Linked DNA regions of Homo sapiens: all the other regions are linked to region 1. The links are contacts of gene promoters, found by promoter capture Hi-C in blood cells and fetal thymus (Javierre and others, 2016). All regions are on one chromosome and are shown on one strand. Each heading gives the region's core, a stretch centred on a gene start or on the middle of the fragment in contact. The rest is flanking DNA. Distances are from core to core; before and after follow the strand shown. Region 1 holds the start of HEPACAM2 (HEPACAM family member 2). Region 2 holds the start of KRIT1 (KRIT1 ankyrin repeat containing). Region 3 holds the start of LOC124901812 (a long non-coding RNA gene). Region 4 overlaps FAM133B (family with sequence similarity 133 member B). Region 5 overlaps LOC105375397 (a long non-coding RNA gene). Region 6 overlaps CDK6 (cyclin dependent kinase 6). Region 7 overlaps CDK6 (cyclin dependent kinase 6).

The links. The method cuts DNA at HindIII sites, captures the fragments that hold promoters and counts their contacts. A CHiCAGO score of 5 or more calls a contact.
Region 2: the fragment with the promoter of KRIT1 here is called in contact with the fragment with the promoter of HEPACAM2 in region 1 in 5 of 17 cell types (fetal thymus, naive CD4 T cells, activated CD4 T cells and 2 more); the score reaches 8.5 in fetal thymus.
Region 3: a contact is called between a fragment that was not itself captured here and the fragment with the promoter of HEPACAM2 in region 1, in 1 of 17 cell types (total CD8 T cells). The highest score is 5.5, in total CD8 T cells.
Region 4: a contact is called between a fragment that was not itself captured here and the fragment with the promoter of HEPACAM2 in region 1, in 2 of 17 cell types (non-activated CD4 T cells and total CD4 T cells). The highest score is 5.3, in non-activated CD4 T cells.
Region 5: a fragment that was not itself captured here is called in contact with the fragment with the promoter of HEPACAM2 in region 1 in 2 of 17 cell types (neutrophils and non-activated CD4 T cells); the score reaches 7.0 in neutrophils.
Region 6: a contact is called between a fragment that was not itself captured here and the fragment with the promoter of HEPACAM2 in region 1, in 6 of 17 cell types (fetal thymus, naive CD8 T cells, monocytes and 3 more). The highest score is 8.6, in fetal thymus.
Region 7: a fragment that was not itself captured here is called in contact with the fragment with the promoter of HEPACAM2 in region 1 in 1 of 17 cell types (monocytes); the score reaches 7.4 in monocytes.

The regions. Positions count from the first base shown.
Region 1 is chr7:93,224,968-93,228,075 of GRCh38, forward strand. HEPACAM2 (HEPACAM family member 2) reads right to left here and starts at 1,502. Exons shown (of 10, transcript NM_001039372.4): 1 at 1,401-1,502. The coding sequence starts at 1,479. The HindIII fragment of the contact is 7,149 bases long and covers 1-3,108 here.
Region 2 is chr7:92,244,314-92,247,421 of GRCh38, forward strand. KRIT1 (KRIT1 ankyrin repeat containing) reads right to left here and starts at 1,601. Exons shown (of 19, transcript NM_194454.3): 1 at 1,477-1,601; 2 at 589-858. It overlaps ANKIB1 (ankyrin repeat and IBR domain containing 1), which reads left to right and starts at 1,661. Exons shown (of 20, transcript NM_019004.2): 1 at 1,661-2,206. RefSeq lists an enhancer at 1,482-1,776 and a silencer at 1,707-2,096. The HindIII fragment of the contact is 4,029 bases long and covers 1-3,068 here.
Region 3 is chr7:94,087,291-94,090,398 of GRCh38, forward strand. It overlaps LOC124901812 (a long non-coding RNA gene), which reads right to left and starts at 2,511. Exons shown (of 2, transcript XR_007060642.1): 1 at 1,879-2,511; 2 at 948-1,075. The HindIII fragment of the contact is 6,381 bases long and covers 1-3,108 here.
Region 4 is chr7:92,577,072-92,580,179 of GRCh38, forward strand. FAM133B (family with sequence similarity 133 member B) reads right to left here. Exons shown (of 11, transcript NM_152789.4): 3 at 2,246-2,324; 4 at 1,248-1,322; 5 at 1,079-1,111; 6 at 584-646; 7 at 32-124. Among named protein-coding and RNA genes, the nearest start is that of FAM133B, 12 kb to the right of the region's middle. The HindIII fragment of the contact is 2,000 bases long and covers 671-2,670 here.
Region 5 is chr7:92,596,656-92,599,763 of GRCh38, forward strand. All of the region lies in intron 1 of LOC105375397 (a long non-coding RNA gene), which reads right to left. Among named protein-coding and RNA genes, the nearest start is that of FAM133B, 7.8 kb to the left of the region's middle. RefSeq lists a silencer at 2,189-2,238. The HindIII fragment of the contact is 1,631 bases long and covers 634-2,264 here.
Region 6 is chr7:92,613,947-92,617,054 of GRCh38, forward strand. CDK6 (cyclin dependent kinase 6) reads right to left here. Exons shown (of 8, transcript NM_001145306.2): 8 at 1-1,340. The coding sequence ends at 1,194. Among named protein-coding and RNA genes, the nearest start is that of FAM133B, 25 kb to the left of the region's middle. The HindIII fragment of the contact is 2,246 bases long and covers 371-2,616 here.
Region 7 is chr7:92,633,850-92,636,957 of GRCh38, forward strand. All of the region lies in intron 5 of CDK6 (cyclin dependent kinase 6), which reads right to left. Among named protein-coding and RNA genes, the nearest start is that of FAM133B, 45 kb to the left of the region's middle. The HindIII fragment of the contact is 5,319 bases long and covers 1-3,108 here.

The DNA of each region.
Region 1 (3,108 bases), core at 252-2,751:
AACACACTGCCTATGGAGAAAAGCAAATTTGCAGAAGAGAGAAGGTCTTAAGGTATAAAAACTGCTTTAGCTATTTATGAACATGCTATTTTCCTAATGTACATTTGTTTTATTTTAGTTGAATTCCTTAACTAAATTGTCTCTAAGTTCTTCTTAACGCCAGTTTCAAAAACAACACTTATAAAATGATAGTAGTCCTACTGTTTTAAATATAAAAATAAGTGGGATGATGACCCAGGATACTTTCAAAAGGAAGACAAATGCACAAAGGTAGTGACAGTTATAATAATTATTTACTTTTTCAAAAAATTTTAGAAAACAAAAATCTATTATAGGCTTAAATTTGATAACATAAATACTGTGATAACTGGAACAATCACAACTCTGGGAAACTCAAAGACTTAAAAAAATTTACAAACTGTACATTTCAAATGTGTGAGATAGGTACAACAGTAGGTATGAATTTGAATAATAACATTTACAATGCAAACTTTAACAAAATATAGGAGTGAAAGTAAAGCTCTAAATAGCTGAAGAAGCCTAAAAGTTAAATTGCTTATTTTGCTAAGCTGTTCTTAATTTTTAAAAAATGTAGCCTTAATTGAACTCCTATCTGTTGAATATAAACAAAACAAGAAATTGATTTGACTTTTAAAACTGATAAATAGGAAGAATGGAAATGAGAACATCTGGTGAAAATAATGTTGACAGACAGCAGTTGGAATGCTGGAAAGAGACTCCTTTAAACTCAAAAGATAAAGAGGAGAATGAGGGAAAATATTAAGGTAGAAAAAAATTCTTAATAGGACTAGCCATTGGGCAAAGAGAAAAGCTAAAGGCATTTTGGAGTAACAATCTTTTCAAATACGTTCTCCCTTTTGTGTAGGAAATTTTTTTGTTAGTTTGGAATCTTACCTTTCTTCCATATTTCATAAGATGAGACAGATAACTTAAAACGAAGCAGTAAACAGTTTGCAACAATATCTTTAATTAAAAAGAAAACAATTTTCGTAAATTATTTGTAGTTTCACTCTAAGTGGTCACAATTTCATGGCCTATTAGAATATTTGCTGAAATAAATGCATTAAAGACTATTGAACCTATATGTAAACTCTAAAAGAAGAAATTCATTATCTTTTAAAAATATCTGAATTATCTTAATGAGTGCTATGACAATAATTGTTGTTCCAAGAAAACAATAACAATCTATTTATTGAAACTCATTTCTCTTAAATGTTCCTGCTTCTTTGCTGTAACAGTGTGTTATTGTTAAAAGGTTCTGACCTGCTCTTCAATTATCTGAATGCATCTACAGCCTAAAGCAAATATTTACCTTATGTCCACAATTAAAAAAAAAAAACCTAACAAACAGCTAAAACACAATTCACACAGGGCCTTACCGAAGAGAAGGAGGTATATTTTGCACTGAAAGACCCCAAGTGTGTCACCGAAGGGCTCCATGAAAGCATCCTGTCCCATGCATGCAGTGCCCTGTTCTCAGTGGTAACTTGGACCAGCAGCTGCTGGTTTATTTGCTAGGGAAATTAGCAGTGAGGTAACAGACCCTATCTTGCCTCTTGCTTCTGTGATTTGAATACAGAATGAATGTGTATACAAAGGACACAGGGAGTGGGAACACCTGTTATGTGCTTAGCAAGAATACAGGCTTATGGCTTTCAGAAGAGTTTCTTAGCAACTACCAGTAATTGTCTATATATTTCATAAATTATACTTAGTTATTAAAAAATCACATGAAGGAAAACATCCTTTTGCGTGACTTTACTGAAAAATGGCATGTTTTCATAATGAAAGAATATTGTGAGATTTCCTTAAAAACAAAAGCTGGTTTTCTATCATGCAGAACTATGCCATTATTATTTTAAAATTAAAAAAAATTATATGAAAATTGAAGTAGCTCATGTATCTGCTAAACAGTTATAAATCTTCATGAAGTCACTAACATGTAAAAATTCTACCAATGAATCAAAAGAGAGATCCAGAATATATTTAAAACGTATTTTTTCTATGCAGTGTTTCCTATTACAATGACTGATTTCATTTAATCTTTGAATTCATCTTATTTTTAAAAGCAAATCACAGGTGTGTTTCCAACTGGGACTGAGGCATGGACCATGCATAATTATAATGAAAAGTGCATGCCAGGAGATAGTATCTGAGGCCACATTTTCACAGCTGATGCATAGAGGAAGTGAACCAATGATCTAGAAAAGATCTTACCTCTACTGCAGTGTCCAGGTTACAGGTTTTCAACCTGGTCTCTCCATTGTCATGGCAGCAGATAGTCTAAGCATGTCCGCTTAATTTACTAAGTTATTAGTTAACCCCTATTTGCAAGAAGGCTCTGGTTCTAGCCTTGTTATATAAAATGTTAAGGATATATCCAAATCTGCATCAAATCATCAAATCAAGGAAAATTCCTTGCATGCATCAGTTTTAACAGTAAAGGCCCACTGAAGAAGTTCAATGATAAGAGGGGAAGGAAGACTATACCTCAAGCATAATTAAAGTAAAAAAGGAATGATAGTAACTTTGGAATCCAAGTTTGGAAACACTCTTTGCATTAGGGCTCTGAACTCTTCTAGAAGGACTTCTATAAGCAAAGAAAGTAAGTGACTATTGGGAAAACGAAGTCCTCTTCAGAGATCAGTCACTTTCAGATCCCTCCATGCTTCAGAAAAATGGCAAGAGCTCCTCATGCTTCCCCCACCTCCCTGCAAAATAATAACAATGCCACAACTTTCTCTGCACTGTCTCTAAATCTGGTACACACATCTATTGCAGCACTTATCTCCTTAATCTTTATTTTATTGGATGTTTATTTTCCCTCTGAGCTCTCGAATACAGAGAATAATCTTATTCATTCATGGATGTTGGGCACGTAGCATAATGCTTAACTGGTATTTTTGTTAAGTTGTTTCTCCAGAAAACAAAACTCTAAGTGCTCCTTGGCCCGTCTTACGATTCTCAGTTGATGCGTAAGAAATACAAATAAATTTTAATATTGGATTGCACAAAATACAATTTGGAAAGTAATATGGAAGTTCTACAGATATCACATAGGTTCCCCCAACATCTTTTAGATTGATA
Region 2 (3,108 bases), core at 351-2,850, 980 kb before region 1:
CATGTTAAGAAAACATTTACTAGCAAAGTACTTTGTCAATACTCATCACTTCTCTAGAATATTTAATTAATACTGCACAGAAGCCTGAACTTTTAAAAGGTAAACAAATGTGATTTTAAAAAGACATAACTATGACAGTAACAGTATTTTGTTTTCTTAAACCAAATACTTTTTTACCATATCCCCAAAATATTCTTAAAATTCATTTTCAAGAACTATTCGTACTTGACTACTTAAAATCTACATTCTTCCAGTGACATGAAAGAAGGAAACAAAGGCTTAACAGGAAAATAACAAAAGTAACTAACATAGGAAGGTAAAACTGCTAAGGGAGAAACACAGACAAACTGATAGAAAATGAGTAGCTTGAACTAAAATACAAGAAAGGTATAACTAGAGTTTGCAATATGTTTAGACTGAGTCTGAGATGAGGGTTCAAGTGAATAAGTACAGGAAACGTGGCATTTTGTTATATGGCTCACTCCATTCTGGAAAATGTTAGGCACAAATGATAATATGCTCCCTAAGTAATAAGATCTTATAAATAAAGCAGTGGAAGTGGTCCTTAATTAGGGGGGTGGCACCTACCTGGGATCACTGGAAAATATGGAGGGCATTTCTGGTTGTCACTATGACTGATGAGGGGAGATGTACAACTGCCATTTAGTGTCCATGGAACAGGTTTGCTAACATCCTCTTAGTATGCTAGACAGCGTTTGCAAACAGAAACTGTAAAGGCACATATGCACTCCAGAAGGGTAAGAAAATAATGAGGCTGAGATCCTGAGTTGGACCACCGAGATGAAAGACTTCTGGTGAGGCTAAAAACATGTAGAAAAAGCGATGAAAGCCAAAAACCTTAAAAGGTGGAGAAAAGTGTAGAGGCGAGAAGTGAGTTACAGGGGGAGAAGTGAGTTAGAATGACAAGCTGTGAATCCCTTTCCCTGCAATGACAAAAATACGTAATCACTCTGCCTGGGAGGTTTTTTCCTGCGCCACCACCCGTCAACGTCCACTACTGGGGAAAAACGTAAGCCTCTTTGCTCAAAGAGTTTCCACCCAAAAAGTGGCTATGGTTTCTCTGTAACTACATGTGAAAAATAAACTCCTTGCCTGGGGCAACTAGATGTGGAGATGGTTCAGTCTCCCACCTCCGTTTTCCCTCGCTGGAGTCGAACTTGCTCCTCCTGTTTCCCGAAGGACACCGAGAGGTCCCACCCGTACGGGCTGCCGCGAGTGCCTCTCTGGCCGCTACATTCAACTAAATGGGTGGGACAGTCACCTGGCGAGGGGGGGCAGGGACCGTCACCGCTTTCTCATTCCTCCTTCCCTCCTCCCAGGCACAGCAGCCCGGCCCAGCTTCCTGTGGCAGAAAAACCCTCAGTCGCCAAAAGAAAGCCGTCTTGAGGGTTCCCCCGCGCTCCCACCCGCGCCCCAAAAGCTCAGGTCTCTGGAGTCGGAGACCCTCCTGCCCACCTGCTCTTTACTGTCCTTCCCTCTCCTCGCACCTCAGCACCATTCACCCCTCACCCTCTCCCGAAACTACGGGGTCCCAGGTCTTCAAAGGCCTTAGCTTTCCACCCCGCCGTTACCGTGGCTATGAAATCGCTTCCGGGTTCACACCCTTTGCAGCCTCGCGGTTGGCGGTGAAAGAGCTTCCGGGTCGGCGGCCGGGCTGCTGCCGTTCCTGCTCCTTTTCACTGGACCTGCAGTCTCTCAGGGGCTGGTGGCAGGCGACTAGGAGACTAGGGTGGTGGCGGTGGGGGTGCCAGCGGCTGAGCCGGAGCCGGAGCCGGAGGCGGGGGAGGGGAAGAGGGCGGCCGGGGCTGCGAGCGCGCAAGGCTGGAACATGAGCCGGGCTTGACCGCGAGGCGGAGGCAAGAGCCACCGCCCCCTCTTCCCCTCCCCCGAGTGAGGCGGCGCAGCGGCCGGAGAGGGATGGGGGGCGCCCACCCAGTCTGAGCCTCGCCGCGGGCGCCTTCGGCTCACGCAGCGCTTCCCGCGGGCCGCCAGTGCGCACCCTCGGCCACATCAGCCTCCGCCTGGCGGGTGCACCCGGGCCGGCGAGGAAGGGGCAACCGTCCGGGTGGGTGGGGCGGGCTGGGTACCTGAGGTCACCAGCTCGGCTGTAGAGGCAGGGGCGGCGGAGGCGGAACTGCGGAGTTGCTGGGTCCACCGACCCTTACCCTCAGCGAGAGAAGTAACCGTAAGTCTCAGCTTCGCGGTACAGATGTGTTTGAGGCTGCCTCTACCCATTTGTGGCTCCGAGTTCAGAGCTACCTACTTCACACCCTCCCGGATCTACTAGGAGTGTGTCTGTCGCCTGTTTTGGAGCATTGTTGTTCTGTCTGTCCCCATCCCTGAACAGGCAGCATTCTCTGCCCTACAGGGCTTTTCTCCCAGCGAATTTGCAAGCCTCCGGGTCTCCGTGACGCGTCCCATCCTCCCCATCTGGATGCATCTCCTTGTCCCTCTGTCCTCAAAGGATCTGTGTCCTTCCTCGCAGCCTCCCCCCCACCCCCATCCTTTGAGACGTGGAAAGCCACGGGTTCTGCCGACCTCGGGGGCTAGAGAGAGTCTTGAGAAGCGGATGGGTAAAAGTGCTCTGCAGGGCTGTGATGGGTGGGGATAGGTGCAGATGGCTCCAGTGAACCTTTATTTTTGCAGCTTCTGCCACCAAAACAAAAGAATGGAGCGCTCCCCTGTATTCTTATTCTTCTCCGTATGTATGAGCTGTTTTTCTGTACGTAGCTGTTTGAGTCGCAGGAAATTGAAACTAGAGCTGTAATAAAGCATCTCCTGAGGAGATTTTGAGAATTAGTCTCCCAAGCTCTATTCACACGGAATGGCATATCGAACAATCTTGTATTGGAATGACCATTTCAGAAGAGCTTTACTGGTAGATCTGACAGATAAATGTAAAGATAAGAGTCTGCTGTTTCAAATAGTGTATTTTAGATACCTTTAAATTTTAGTGTTCTAATTTTCATCTAGTTCTTAATTTGTGAAGTATGTGGGTATGTGTAAGGTGTAAAAATCTGTGTATTGGAAGGTTTTGCTTTGTTACAAGCTTTTGCTTTGTTGCTTTTGAGACAGACGTTTAAAGAT
Region 3 (3,108 bases), core at 312-2,811, 860 kb after region 1:
ATGCACACAAATGTGTGTGTATGTGTATATACACACATATATATACACATATGTTCTTTGCTCAAAGAAACTTGAGAAACTGTAAAGAAAATTAAGTAGATTTCTTTATAGCAGGACCTCTTAGAGACTTTAATACGGTGATTATGTAAGAGGAAGCTATAGTATTTAGCTTTTCCTAAACATTTTTTTATGGCATAGCTGTTAACAACAACCAGACCTCTGTGTTTGATATTTTTGCAGCTTTGAAATCCAATTTAAAAAAAAAGAAAAAGAAAGAAAGGGGCCTCAAAAAGTTACCACCCTCTTCCCCATGCACACTTTCCAACTCCATTCCTCGCTTTTAAGTTAGGGGAGCTAACTTTTGTTGCGTACCTACTAAGTGCTGCATCTGAAACTCAGCTATACCAAGGTTTTCTACCCGGAAAGACAGAAATTATCTCCTACTCAATTCTATATTAGAAATCTGAGCTTCACTAGATAATTTAGCCAAAGCCATAGTTTGTTTGTTTGGAGTGAAGGAGGCAGCGAACACTGCCAGTCAAAAAGTACCTCTCCCAGGGAGCCTATTTAGAAACAAAAGTGAAATCTAATTCACATTCACATAACCATAACCGCAATCGATCCTGTAGGTGGAGAGCGATTTTAGCAATAGTGACACCTTGTGGCATTATCTGCCATGGCTCATTAGCCAGGAAGGCTAAAAGAGATTCCTTTCCAGACAAGTCACCCACTGAAAGCGGTGGAACCAAAGTGAAGAGTGCTGAGAATTTTGCAGGGTTATCATTTTGTTTTTTCTGAAATAACCTGAGATAAAAGCAGCAGAGCTGTCTTTTTTTCCTCCTTTTCTCTTATCCTTAGTTCTTTTCTTAGATTCCTATGATAAACTAAGAAGCAAGGAAGTATACATTTATATCCTACTCCACCTATATCCAAAACAAAATAGTCCATTTTAAATGCAAAGGTGACTGTTTATTATACAAAACACTAATGGCCTTAATTTCCATGGGACTTGCAGTTTCTGGGAGGTTCTCTGTATATTCTTTTCTTGTGTTTTCAGAGAGACTTCAGATGCTGCCTAATAAGAAGAAAAAACAAACACATTTTTCTAAAGCAGCCAAAGTGCTTTTAGGCTCTTAGAAGATAACAGGGCTGCTGTCAAGTCATTTGAAGAGACATCTGGAAGGCAATTTTACAAAGATGAGGGAAAATAGGAAAGCCAAAACTGGACAATAGAGTAGAGAAAGAGGAAGTTAAAAAAAAAAAAAGGACTTTTACCAGCCTTTTATTGTAAGACCAAGGACATACACTGGATTCTCAGATTTCACAAGAAGCCAAAACATTGTTTAAAACTTCCATTTGAAATTCTAGAGTGGAGAATTAAGGATGCATGTGAACTTGTTGCAGATTTTCAGGGGTTAAGGCAGTGGGGAGAGAAAAGGTTTAAATTATGCAGAGGCACCATGACTCAGAAGGCAAAATAAAGAAGTGGAAAATGAATGTTTGTGACTTCCACTTATGTCATGCTGCAGGCACATCAACTCTCTGAGCTTCTGTTATGCTACCCACAGAAAAGAGATAAATACCTAGAGGGAGGCAGGACAGTCACAAAAAAGACCAACTCTAAAGCCCTTTGTTTAGCTTGGTGACCTGGTAACTGCACCTGTGCCCTGTCTCCTTGGTTGACAGGGGATAAAGATGGTGATGGGAGCTCAGAACAAGGGAAAAAGAAAATAGGACTTAAGGGAGACGTAGAAAGGTTCGGAATGAAAGAATGGGATTAAGGGAAGGAAGCAAACAAGCAAGGAGGCTTTGTGAGTACTGTCAGAGACAAGAGACCAATGAAACTATTTTCTCCAAGTAAGTCTTGCTTCCAATTACCTGTAGAGAAATCTGTCCTCAACATCCCTGGATGAAGTGGCCGGGGGCAGTGAGCAGAGGAAGTTGAGCAGGGATTCCATGTTTCTGAACTGTTTCTCATATTCTTTTTTTCCACTAGAATATTCTTCCAACTCTCATCTCTCATTCAAAACCTTAACTTGTCTCTCTAGTAGCACCTCACATGACTAGTAAGCCCTTTCGAAGGGGTATGCACACCATTGGATACCCCTTCTCAATAATGGCTTGGCAAACACTGCAGAGCACCCACTGTGCACCAGACACGCCAGCAGCACCTGGATGCAAAGGATGAAGTCACAATCCCCTCAGCCCTCCAATTAGCAGCTCACTCAAGAATGCTCTGAATCTCCTTCCCATTCTACATCACTGCATCTCTCTTGCTGTTCTTACTACTGTTATTGGAAACAATTGCTTTCTTCCCAAGACAGGTCCTAAACTACACTGGGGTAGAGACAGTGTTTCCATCTTTGCATCTCTCTCTGTGCTGTCCCAAAGCCATTGCACACAGCAGATGCCTCCTGAATAAATGATCATGTATTTGAGTTGAATGCCTGACTGACTGTGAGGTTAGGACTTGTTGCTTCCATTCCCAAAGTGCTACGCTCCAACCTAGTGAGATAGAGGTAGTGATTTTCTCATTGGCTTGTGGCTAGGGAAGGCTAAGGTTCAGCCAGCAAAGAGATTTAGCAGGAGGGCCAGCCAAAAGAGTGCACCAGGAAAATGGAGGTCCGTGAGTAGATAACATCAGATTGGTTAGGAGGCAAAACAGAAAGCGAAGTGGACCCAACCATCCCACCACAAGTGTCCCGCCTGCCCTCGAGCTAGATCTGAACATTCCTTTATTCTTCCTGTCTCCAAACCTATTCCTCATGCCCTAGCCCCTCTGGGCAGCTCTTCTTGGTGGAGTAACAACAGCTGCTATTCTAAGTACAGGAAGCTGTCTTGTAAACAGTAATTTGTTCATATCAAATGTGTAGGACTAGAAACAAGGTAATACATGATAACTTTAATTAACACATTCTCAGATAAGACAGCCCTATTTTGAAACAACAAAAAGAAAAATCTTCATAATTCATCCTGAGGAAATAAAGCTCCTTATAACAAAACAACCAAGTTATCTATCAGAAGCTGCCAGGACACTGCCCCTTAATCAGCAGGAATGGGTGGCCAAATGCCCTGTGTGGATGGAGAGCGGCAGCCAGACCGGCTAAT
Region 4 (3,108 bases), core at 421-2,920, 650 kb before region 1:
ATCCAATATATTAATAATTTAAATAATTTACCTTACTGTCTGATTCAGTTTCTGACATGGAGCTTTCAGAAGATTTATGTGAACGGTTCTTCTTTTTCTTTCTCCGTTTTCCTTGTTTCTTATCCTACATAAAATATTTTTAGAAACATTTGCTTTCTGTCTCAAAAATCTAATTTACACATTTATTAATATAAAACTTTTATCAGTGAACAAAATTTCACAAAAGGATCAGTTTCTATATTTTTTTCTTAATACTTAATACATCACTTTCCTGTTATAAAGATCAAGTGATTTGAATCACATGTAATGCCTAGCATCTAGTCAAATAGCATTTGATTTTTCAAATATTTTCTTCTACTGATATTTTTAGGTCAACAAAACAAATTTTAAAATCTAAAAAATATATTATATACCAATATTTAAGTTCCTAGTTACCACTCACTCATGTTAGTCCTCTAAGTTATGGATAATTAATCAAAACCTGGAAGTCAACATTTCTAACAGATATTTCACAATGGGTTTCCACTTGACATTAAAGAAATTAAGAGATATTATTTCATGAACCATTATAAGCAAACCTTACCTCATCTTCAGAATCAGAAGAACTGCTGGAAGAATCAGAGCTTGATGAAGAAGAAGATGAATACTTGACCAAGCACAAAACAATTAAAGCTTGTGAGATGCGAGAATGTTTTTCTTTTACAAAGTCTCTCAAATACTTAGTGAAATCAATCTAGTGTCTGAGAAACAGATGCCATATTCATAAGTCATAAATATGAAAATATAAAATGTCACACTTGTTCCCTGTACAAAAGCTCAACAAGTTAACATATGTGGCCATGGTCACCAATCTTTCTCTTTAAATAGCAACAGAAAATGTACTACGTTATAAGGTGGTTGGCACCGTTTTTTATGTCAGTGATAGAACAAAATCACTCTTCACAATCAAAGAACCTCTAAGTTCCTTGACTCATCTGGAGTTTAAGCTACCTTTAGCATACAGGTTAAACAAATTATTCTTACTTTTTTTGTTGGCTCTTAATTGTAACGTTTAGAAAAATGGAAAATTTTTGCTCACCCTACCAGATTTCTTCTTTTCTTTTTTCTTTCTCTAAATGGAAACAAAAGTACAAGTCTAAATAAGCTGATGTGAGTTTGCAAATGCATCTATTAACAGTAGTATACAGCATTATTATGAAAATCCAACTATGAGATTAAGAATAGCAATAAACTAAAAGTGGTATTACCTGTCTTTTTTTGGATGAGCTCTCACTTCCACTTAACAATTTCTCCCTGTGTTTTTCCAGTTCTTTCTTCCAGTTCTGCAAAAAGGTTATGAACACCATCAGAGACTATCTAACCTTTCCAATACACCTAATATACAGAGACAGCCACTGCTTCCTTCCCTCCATCCTCTTAATACCTCTCACCCATTTCAGCTTCTAATTACAGTCAAAAGAAACACAGGTGCCAATCCTTGACCCTATCACCAAAGGACCCTCTACTAGCTCTTTTCAAAGAGCATATTAAGGGATAGGGGTTCTGTATTATTGAGCAGCAGGCATTATTACTGAAGCTGAGGTCTCTTTTCAACAAAGATGGCTAGATTCTCCGTCTAGGCTGTAAAAGTTGAATTAATCATTACTGTGATTGATATGTTATATACATGTTTGTAATCAAAACAAGCAAACAGGCTGGGTATAATGGCTCACACCTGTAATCACAGTACTTTGGGAGGCTAAGGTGGGAAGATCGCTTGAGCTCAGAAGTTGGAGACCAGCCTGGGCAACATAGTGAGAACCTGTCTCTACTAAAGATAAAAAAAAAATTAGCTGGGCATAGTGGCCTGCAACTGTGGTCCCAGCTGCTCAGGAGGCTGAAGTAGGAGGACTGCTCAACCCTAACTTGGAATCCAAGTTATCTAAGTCTTAGATGACTTACATTACAAGATGATTCTTCTTCATTTTTTAAAGCATGCACGTAAATACAAACTTGTATTCACCATAACAATAACACTTCTAAAATACAGAACCTCTTTAACTGAGAGAGCTATGCCCAAATACTTAAGGTATTTTCTTTTTTTTAATGGAGACAAGGGCGGCGGGGGGGGGCCTTACTTTGTTGCCCAGGCTGGTCATGAACTCCTGGCCTCCCGTTTCGGCCTCCCAAAGTGCTGGAATTATAGGTATGAGCCACCATAACTGGCCAAATTAGTCTATTTTTTTAACAGGTACTTTTTACAAACCTCATTCATTTTTTCTTCAAATTCAGCCAAAGCCTTGGAGCCTTTCTTTTTCTTTTCTAGTTGCTCTTTTACTTCTTCCCTTAAAAAATAGAATGTACAAACAAAATTTCAAGCAATTCAAATTAGATAAATGCTTACAAATAAGACAACAAAATTTCATAAACTCTTCTAAATATTCTAATAGACTTCTATTCAATGTTGGTAACATTTCAATTTCTTTGTTCACGTTTATAAAAATAAATTACCATAATAAAGCTAAATAAATAACACTAATCACTCCTTTTCTAAATATGGATTATAAGAGCTAATACACCAAACATCTAAGCACTTACAACAGGCACTATTTAAAATACATTTTCATTTAATCCTCACAACGACCCTCTGAGAAAAGGTATGGATCCCCATTTTATAGATAAAGAAACTGAAGCTTGGAGAAGGTAAGAAATCCACCTAAGGTCATAAACCTGGTAGTTTTCAGTGTTAGGATGCCCTGAAATCTATCTGACTGAACTACTACATTCCATATATGACCCATTTAATAAGGTACCTAACATGCTGTGCAGAGAAGAGTTAATACAGCTCGCCTGACTGCTTAATCTTGGAAAGACATACTTAAAAGACTGGCCCTAGGTGGGCATCTGGGAACTTGAATTCGGAGGATTCTTACTATTCTCTGATAAGAGCAGATCATTGTTCCTAAAACTGTTTGTACAAACAATGTAGTTCAAGCTAAATACCTGTTTTCCTTCTGGGAAGCTGGAATTTTTTTTAAAAAGAGACAAGGCCTTGCTCTGTCACCCAAGCTAGAATGTAGTGGCATGATCATAGTTCACTGTAATCTTCAACTCCTGGCCTCAAGCAAT
Region 5 (3,108 bases), core at 199-2,698, 630 kb before region 1:
CTCACCTTCTGCTTCTCGTAAAGTCCACTTAGTCTCTGTTGCATATTTTCCTTCGTCTCCTGGGATATAAACACTGGGGCACTGTAGAGCTTGGCATATAAACACTGGGGCACTGTAGAGCTTGGTTCTGGGATCTTTCCTTTTTTTTTTTTTTTTTTTTTTTTTGAGACGGAGTTTCACTCTTGTTGCCCAGGCTGGAGTGCAATGTCATGATCTTGGCTCACTACAACCTCCGCCTCCCGAGTTCAAGCAATTCTCCTGCCTCAGCCTCCCTAGTAGTTGGGATTATAGGCAGGCGCCACCACGCTTGGCTAATTTTGTATTTTTAGTAGAGATGGGATTTCTCCATGTTGGTCAGGCTGGTCTTGAACTCCTGACCTTAGGTGATCCGCCTGCCTCGGCCTCCCAAAATGCTGGGATTTCAGGCATGAGCCAACGCACCCAGCCGGGATCTCTTCTTTTTATAGACACTTTCTTTCTTGTTGATCTCATCCAATCTCTAGCTTTATATGCCATCCATACACTGACAACTTCAAAACTTTTATTTCCAATCTAGACCACTTCCTTGGAATCTAGACTCATGCCTCTAACTGCCTAGTCAACATCCTCACTTCAGTGTCTCATATGAGCTCAAGCTTAACATGTCCAGTGTCCAACTCCCAATATTCTCCCTAAAACCAGGTCCTCCTACATTCTTCCCATCTCAGTAAATGGCAACTTGATCTTTCCACCTGCTTAAGCCAAAAACTTCAGAGACATCCTCACTTTTTTTTTTTTAGACAAAGTCTCACTCTGTCATCCAGGCTGGAGTGCAATGCTGTGATCTCAGCTCACTGCAACCTCCGCCTCCAGGGTTCAAGTGATTCTTGTGCCTCAGCCTCCCAAGTAGCTAGAATTACAGGCGCCCGCCACCACATCTGGCTAATTTTTGTATTTTTTCTTATTAGTAGATGGGCTTTCACATGTTGACCAGGCTGATTTCAAACTCCTGACCTCAGGTGATCCACCTACCTCGGCCTCCCAAAGTGCTGGGATTACAGGCGTGAGCCACCACGCCCAGCCCATCCACGCTTCTTCTCTTTCAATGCCATGTCTAATTTATAAGCACCTACTATAACCTTTACCTTCAAAACATCTTACATCTTGTTGTCTCCATTGTTTTCACTTTGATCAAAGCTACCATTATCTCTCATCTGGATTATTACAACAGCCTCCTAACCCAGGCTCCCCGCTTACATCTTTGCCACCCTAAAGTATTTTCTCAATAGAGCAGTCACAGTGGCTTTACAAACAGATCATATGTCACGACTGTGCTTCTTGCCTTCCGGCAGTTTCCCATCTTATTCAGAGTAAATACCAAAGTCTTTGCATTGGCCAAGAAGCCCCTCCAAGATATGCTTCTCCTGCCACTAACTTCCCTGGAATATCTCCTTTCTTTCTCTTGCAGTTAATTGCTGCTACACTGGCCCCCTTGCTGTTCTTTGGACATGGCAGGCATGCTCCTGCCTTAAGGCATTAGCACCTGTTGTTTTCTTCATCACTAATACACCTAGATTCCTCTTCTCTGTAAGTCCTTTGATCTAGTGTCACCTTCTCTATGAGGCCTTCACTGATCTCCTCGTTTAAAATTGCACCCCCATGACACTTTATATTCCTTTCCTCATTTCTTCCCACACATGTATCTAACATCCTAGTTTACTATAATTATTTATTTGTTGCCCCTCACTAGAAAACAAGCTCCATAAAAACAAGACATTTTGTGTATTTTGTTTACTGCCACATCCCCAGTGCCTAAGGACAGTGCCTGGCACATCACTGTGCTCAATAAATATTTACTAAATGAATCAATGACTAGTTTCACTGCCATATTGACTGGTCTGTTTGTACCTGTACCCACTGTCTTTGCCTGCCCTCCCATTAATCCTTTTCTCTCTCAAATCCAGCTCTTCCTCTTGTTCTCCTGGGCCCTTCCTCTCCCTCTTCTCATTACCTTTGCTTCTGCTGTTATTGCTTCTTTTTCACCCTCAATCTCTCTGTTTCCACAATGGACTGTCTTCCATCTCAGAAAACAAGAATTCTCCTTTGATACCACATCCTCCCTGAGCTCTACCTCCATTTCTCTGTTCTGCTTTATGATTCAGCTTCTCAAACAGGCTGTCTACATTCTCTACCTCTCTAACCTCATCTCTGACCACTCCTCCCCCGACTGACTATGCTCTAGGCTCACTGATGTCTTTTCTACATACCAAGCCTTCCTACCTTGAAGCTTTCAGCTGCTTTCCCCTGAGCACCCCACCTAGCTGCCTTAGTCTCATTCTTCATGCCTCAACTCTTTTGACAGGGCCTTTTCTGACACCAGTTTCCCATCTTCCAGCAGTTTCCCATCTTATTCAGAGTAAATACCAAAGTCTTTGCATTGGCCAATGCAAGTACTTTCTACCTTATAGCAATTTTAGCACTTATCATAATGTAATTATCCTATGCAAATATTTATGTTAGCTCCATGAGAGCAAGCACCTTGTTTTGTTCACTACTGTATTTCTAGGGTTTGCTGGTGCCTGGAACAGAAGTTCATTAAGTGTTGAATGAATGAATGTATGAGTTTCCAGTGATGAGATGACTTAAAGCTAGCTGCTGACATATGCAAATAAATATAAATGCATGCGCAGTACTGCCCTTAGAAGCACTGTTTCTTTCTTCTTCTTCTTTTTTTTTTTTTTTTTTTTTTTTGAGACTGGGTCTCACTCTGTCAACTAGGCTGGAGTGCAGTGGCACAATCATGACTTACTACTTGGACCTTCCTGGCTCAAGCCATCCTCCCACCTCAGTCTCAGGGTCCATGCCACCGTGCCTGGCTTTTTTTTTGTATTTTTTGTAGTGACGGGGTTTCACCATGTTCCCAGGCTGGTCTCAAACCCCTGGGCTTGGCCTCCCAAAGTGCTGGGATTATAGGCGTGGGCCACCGCACCCTCCTTAGAAGCATTGTTTCTAACAGTAAAAAATTGGATATATGGTGGGGAGAAATACCTATCAATAGGGGATTGGGTAAGTAAATTATAGTACATTTACACAATGGCACACTATTCAGCTGTAAGAGAAGTTAATGTA
Region 6 (3,108 bases), core at 244-2,743, 610 kb before region 1:
GCATGGGAACAGCTTAAGCAATCTGTTATTAGTTATACAATGGTAGCAATATATTTCAGAAGTGCCGGGAGATAGACAAGATGGATACTTTGCCAACAAGGCAGTGTGTGGCAGAAAGTACAGTGTAATAGATGAGGAAAATTTCAAGGCCACTCCTGTCTCTAGTTAGAGAGAACTACTCTCCAAACCAAAACAGGAAAGAGTTTCTGACAAATTCCTAAAAACAAAAACAAAATAACAACAACAAACAACAATAACAACAACAAAAAAAGGGAAGAAAGGAATTTCAAACCAGGAAATAAAGGCTTTCTATTCTTTTTTTTAAAATCTATCTGAGGTACACTCCCTAAACCTATAGCAAGTAATAAAAAGCTTACAGGCTATTTTCCAAAAGAAATGATAAAGCATGATGTCATACAGAAGGTTAAAATAGACTTACAACAAGTAAATTCAGCATTCTGAAGACTAAATAGAATGCATGCACATCTCTTAAAATATACTAGAATTTTTTCTCCTTTTTGCTGTGTGTATAAAACTTCATCTTTTACTGCTAGCAAATTTACTGCTTTTGGCCAGAAAAGAAATGCTGAGGACATGGGGTTAACTTTCTAATTTGAGAAGACTATTTTGGTGAATCACCTTCAGTGAACAAATGCCTGTTATTTACTGACCACCTTGAGTCTTTAAAATTGAATTATTCTTGTCGTTTACAAAAAGTAACACTTTAAAAGATCACAGAATCTCTCACATACACACACACACACACACACACACACACACACATGCACACACACACTCAAAAGTACCAAATCAGGCCCGGCAGCTGCAGAGAGATTACATCATAACTCAGCTGTGCCTGGATTACCCACTCCACACTGGCAGCATTCAAGGTTAGAAAAATCAAATGGCAGCACAATTGGTCAGCAGCTTCTCTTCTTCTGGAATTTTTCCAGGTTCTTGAAACAAACAGACAAACAAACAAACAAATGAACATAAAGCTGCAATCACTCTTGCATTGATTTCAAAACAGTAAACTAGGCGGTTTCCTTGGAGAAGCAGAGCCTGTCCAGAAGACAGCAGCTGGAAGGCCTCCAGATAGCAATCCTCCACAGCTCTGTAGGGCTTGCTGAGGGGGACCCATAAGCCACCAAGGGTGTTCTCCGCAGGATCAGCTTAAGGCGGCTGCTGAGGCCTCAGGCTGTATTCAGCTCCGAGGTGTTCTGGCTGGGCGGCAGGTGGGAATCCAGGTTTTCTTTGCACCTTTCCAGGTCCTGGAAGTATGGGTGAGACAGGGCACTGTAGGCAGATATTCTTTTGGCTGGGTTAAATGTCAAACACTTCTGTAATAAAGAAAAAAATAATTGGTTGATATACAATACATCAATGTAAATAATGTACTTACAGAGTTATCCCTTTATTCACTGTCATATGTTAAGCGCATCTACAGTGGGAATGAGTATTTATTTAAAGGGACACTAAATAATATGGAGACAGTACTCATATATATCCCTAATGTATAAAATGTCCCTCAGGAGAAGACCCTTTTGGGTGCCTATGGACTGTTTCCTGCCCAGGATTTCTCACTAAGCCATTAAAGTATGCATATAACTTTATTTAGTAATTCTTCCAGTGCTAGCAAACTTAGTGCTACAGTCGGAGACTTCACCGTAACTTATTATCCTGCCTCAAGGCTACACCACTCAGAGGCAGGGCTATCTTCCTTTTAATTAATACCAAGGTGCCACATGGCTAGCAGTAGCTCTCTCAGGGGACCATTAGATTCAGTTCGAGTCACTAAACTCTATTCCAGGCTGACAGCTCAAGTGTAGGGCTACCAAGGTGAATGAGCTGGTGCCTGCGCTTAAGAAGCTCCTGGTCCTAGTCAAGTGGTTTGGGCAGTTTGGCTGAGCTACTGAGGTAGAAGGTGAAAGGAGGGAAAGGGAAACCTTTGCAGTAGCAGCAATCTCTATTCCCAAACTGTCCATACCTAAATTAGTTAGAATGTGTCCCTAATTTCAGTCTCATTTCCACCCCTACCTCAGGTAATCTTGTTACTCAAATCCTCCTCCTCTCCTTCCATCAACGCCTCCTGCTGGGTGCCTAGCAGGTGGCAAGCACTAATTAGTGATGAGTAAGACCTCCTCATTGCCACAGGAGCTCACAAGTAGCAGGGAAGCCACACTGGCTTCTCCATCCTAAAGTGAACTGGGTATATGAAATGTCTATGCATTCCAGTCTTCTATGTAATTTACAGACTTCACATTATCATGGTTAATGGAAGACCTCTTCCACTTAAGAGGTCTGCATAACCATGATATTAATAGGACTCCTGCTCACAGTCCTAGTCAGGTTCCAACTGGATTAGGGACCTCTCTAATATTCTATCGAAGGCTACTGACCTAGAAAAACAAATACAAACAGAAAGTTCTATGTGTAATTTCAGGCAAATTCTTGGGTCCTCTGAAATCTGATTTATCCTGAGATCCCCATCAGTCCATGGTTGCTAGCCTCCCTATAGGATCTTCTGAACATCAAGAGCTAAAGGGCAAGTGGAAGAAAGAGCTTGTCTGTAGAAAGGTTCCAACTGTCTCTAACAGCAAGAAACATCTCTAGAAAAGCTTTGCAAGGGCTGAATTCCCAAAGGACCGGAAAGCAGGGGCAAAATTCCTGAGCCTGAGTTCTCTTTTCCCAGAGCCCAAGAAGGAGAAAATTAGGTAGTGGCATTTAATCTCCAGGACATAGGAAAGAAGAGAAAAGAGCTGTGGGAATACATTCACAATACAGAGACATGTCTCTAGAGGATTATGTGAGAGGAAGCCCTTTCCTCACAGCTACACTGATGGCTTAAAGCTGGGAAGAGGGTGGAGAGAAGGAGAACACCTTAGCCAAATGTGGGGGTGTGGGAGAATCTCACGTTGGAAGTCTTAATACATTTTGTCCTATAGAAATATGGTTAAAAAAAAGGTGTTTAAGTTCTATTATTGCTCTACTTCAGGAACAAGGTTGCCAGGTTGAGGGTTAATTAAAAAACTTTGTGTTAATAATATTGTTTCTGCAAGAAAATTTAGTTTAATTGCCAAATAGTTTACTTATAAAATGAGCTTTTGG
Region 7 (3,108 bases), core at 200-2,699, 590 kb before region 1:
GTGATATGTACACAGTGTGATAGGAATGTAGTGTAGCTACAGTGGGGTGTGCTAGTGGCTTTCCAATTAATTTTAAGAGCTCTTTTATTCATTAAGGATATTACACCTTTGTCATATTCATTCATTTTCTCCAAGATTATCACATGCTTTTTAACTTGGCAGTGTTTTTATTTTCTGATGAACAAAAGTTTTCAATTTTTATATAATCAAATATATTAGTATTTTTGTTTGTGACTTCTTAATGCTTTGAAAATATATCTCCATTCTAGGGTCACAGATACTTCCTATAGTTTCTTTATTCTTTTATGGCTTCACTTTTAATATGTAACTCTTTAAGCCATCTGTCATTTGCTCTGTGGTGAGGAATAGTGAGAATCTAATCAGGTTACCATTTTTCCCCCATGAAATTGACCAATTACCCTATTCTCATTTGTTGCATATGCCGTTCTGTCCTCCCAGATTTGTGATTTATGATAAATTGCATCACTTCCTAAATTAGGGTTTCAAGTCTCATTCTCTATTCTGTTCCATTAATGTCTGTCACTTCTGCTGGTACCACATTATTTTTATTACTGTAGTTGCATAATGTATTTTAGTGCTTGGTAGCAGGAGTTTCTCTTCATAACTTTTTTTTTTTGGTAACAAAAAATTCTTGGCTATTTTCACCAGTTTAACTCTTCCAAATGCATTTCAGGAAATCCCACTGGAATTCTGACTGGAGTTGCATAAACCTATGAATTAATTTGGAAACCTTTTATATCCTTACAACTATTCAATCTTCCTGTTCAGGAAAATGGAATATTTAATATCTTTCTAATAATCAAATATTCTCTATATCTAGGAAAGTCATTTTTATGTATCTCAATCAAGTTTTATAGTTTTCTTGATATGGGTTCTACACATTGACTTACATCCATCTACATTTTTGATTTTTATACTGGGAATGAGATGGAGCTGCTGCTAACTCTGGAGAAACTTACTGCTGATCTTTTATCTTTGGACATGATCCTGACTGTTCTCCTAAGTGATGGATTATCTTAGATTTGAAAAGTATAGGAAGTAAAGGACAAGAGGGACATGTGGGGGGATGTAGTAGAGTCTGTTTTATATTCATAGTGAGAAGACTCTGAACCTCCCAGGAGGGCTCTAAAGGTTAAAAAACATGCAACCAAAAGCACCGAGGATTAGTAAAAAGAAATAATGTGCAGTAAGTGCTCAGAGGGATGACTCATTGCATTGGATCATCTTTGGGAAACCACCTACTAAGCAGAATTTAGCAGCTAAAGCGTTATTTTTGGTGCACAGTTTATTGCTACTTCCTCTTGGGAAAAAAAGATTAATCCTAGCTCCCTAAAACACTTAAGAATGGTCACCCTGGCAAACCGGCCTGTCAGGTAACAATGTTGTTTCCAGATCAGGGCAGTGTTAGGTTCCCTGTAGGGATTTCTTCAGAACAAGGGAGAAGCACTTTACCACATGTTATGGAAAGGAGTATAGACCAGGAGACAGAAGATCCAGCTCTTAGTGCTGGCTCTGTAACTGATTAACAAATAAATCCCAGAGTGCAGGCAGGCCACTTAATCTCTGCTCATCTGCTAAAAAACAGATATCACAGCTTCTGTCGTACTCCATATCATGGAAGAAAATAACACAAAATAATAAACCATGTGAATGAAGCAGTTAAAACTGCTGAGAAATAAAATTAACCTGCTCAGTAAAAGTAAGGCTACCAATCAAGAACAAATAGAATGAACTGTTACTCGTTCCAAAGTTATTTATTTTTGCTTAATACTGTATTTCCTTCTCCTTTTTCTCTGTCCTGTGGTTTCTTTTCCTTGTTTCATTATGACTAAATATGCAAGGAAAATTCAATGCTGTTATTTTGGTCCTATCTTTGGCCCAAATCTCTAGATTTAATTTACCCATGATACCGTGCTGTGCTATTTAAAAAGATCACTAAGAAAACTTTATAGATGATGAAGTTAGGAAAATGACAAATAAGGGGATAAATGCGTTTCCTTATTTAGGTGAGGACTATGGCTGAGAAGATTCTGTAACTTAGACATAGTCAGGGACGTGATAAGAGCAGGAGCTGTAATCAGTTTTGCTAATCATGATTTCTAAACAATACTATTTTATCAAGTATTTAAATGCAATCTATCCGTAGCACATTTAAAAAAAAGTTATAAGAAATATTTTTAAATTTGTTATTATTATTATTTTTTGAGACAAGATCTCATTCTGTTGCCCAGGCTGGGGTGCAGTGAAGTGATCTCAGCTTGCTGAAGCCTCCATTTTCTGGGTCAATCATTCACCCACCTCAGCCTCCTGAGTAGCTGGGACCACAGGGGCATGCCACCACACCAGGCTAATTTTTGTATTTTTTGTTTTGTAGAGACAGGGTTTTGCCATGTTGCTCAGGCTGGTTTCGAACTCCTGAGCTCAAGCGATCTGCTGCCTTAGCCTCGCAAAGTGCTGGGATTACAGGCGTGCACCACTGTGCCCAGCCAACACAAATATTAAGGTCAACTTCTGGTTTCAGTACAAACTATTTAGTTTATTTATGAAGCAAATGAACTTACAAGAATGAGAAGGCTGAGGGGATATGATTATATATAAGATCCATTTGCATTATACATTCTCTAGAGAGGTACAACTCTCTGTCATATTTTTGATTTTATAACTATAAGAGAAAAATATCACCGGCAAAGGCTTTATGTCACTCATAAGAAATGAAACAGCATTTGATAAAAAACAGCATGTACAGGAATAAATAATTACATTTTGGTAAAAATATATGTTAAAAAAGATAAAATATTTATGAAATATGTTTTCTTCTTCCCCTGAGACGGAGTGCCCAGGCTGGAGTGCAGTGGCGCAATCTTGGCTCACTGCAACTTCTGCCTCCTGGGTTCAAGCGATTCTCCTGCCTCAGCCTCCCAAGTAGCTGGGATTACAGGCATGCGCCACCATGCTGACTAATTTTTGTATTTTTAGTGGAGATGGGGTTTTGCCATGTTAGCCAGGCTGGTCTCGAACTCCTGACCTCAGGTGATCTGCCCACCTCGGCCTCCCAAAGTGCTGGGATTTAGGTGTGTGAACCACTGC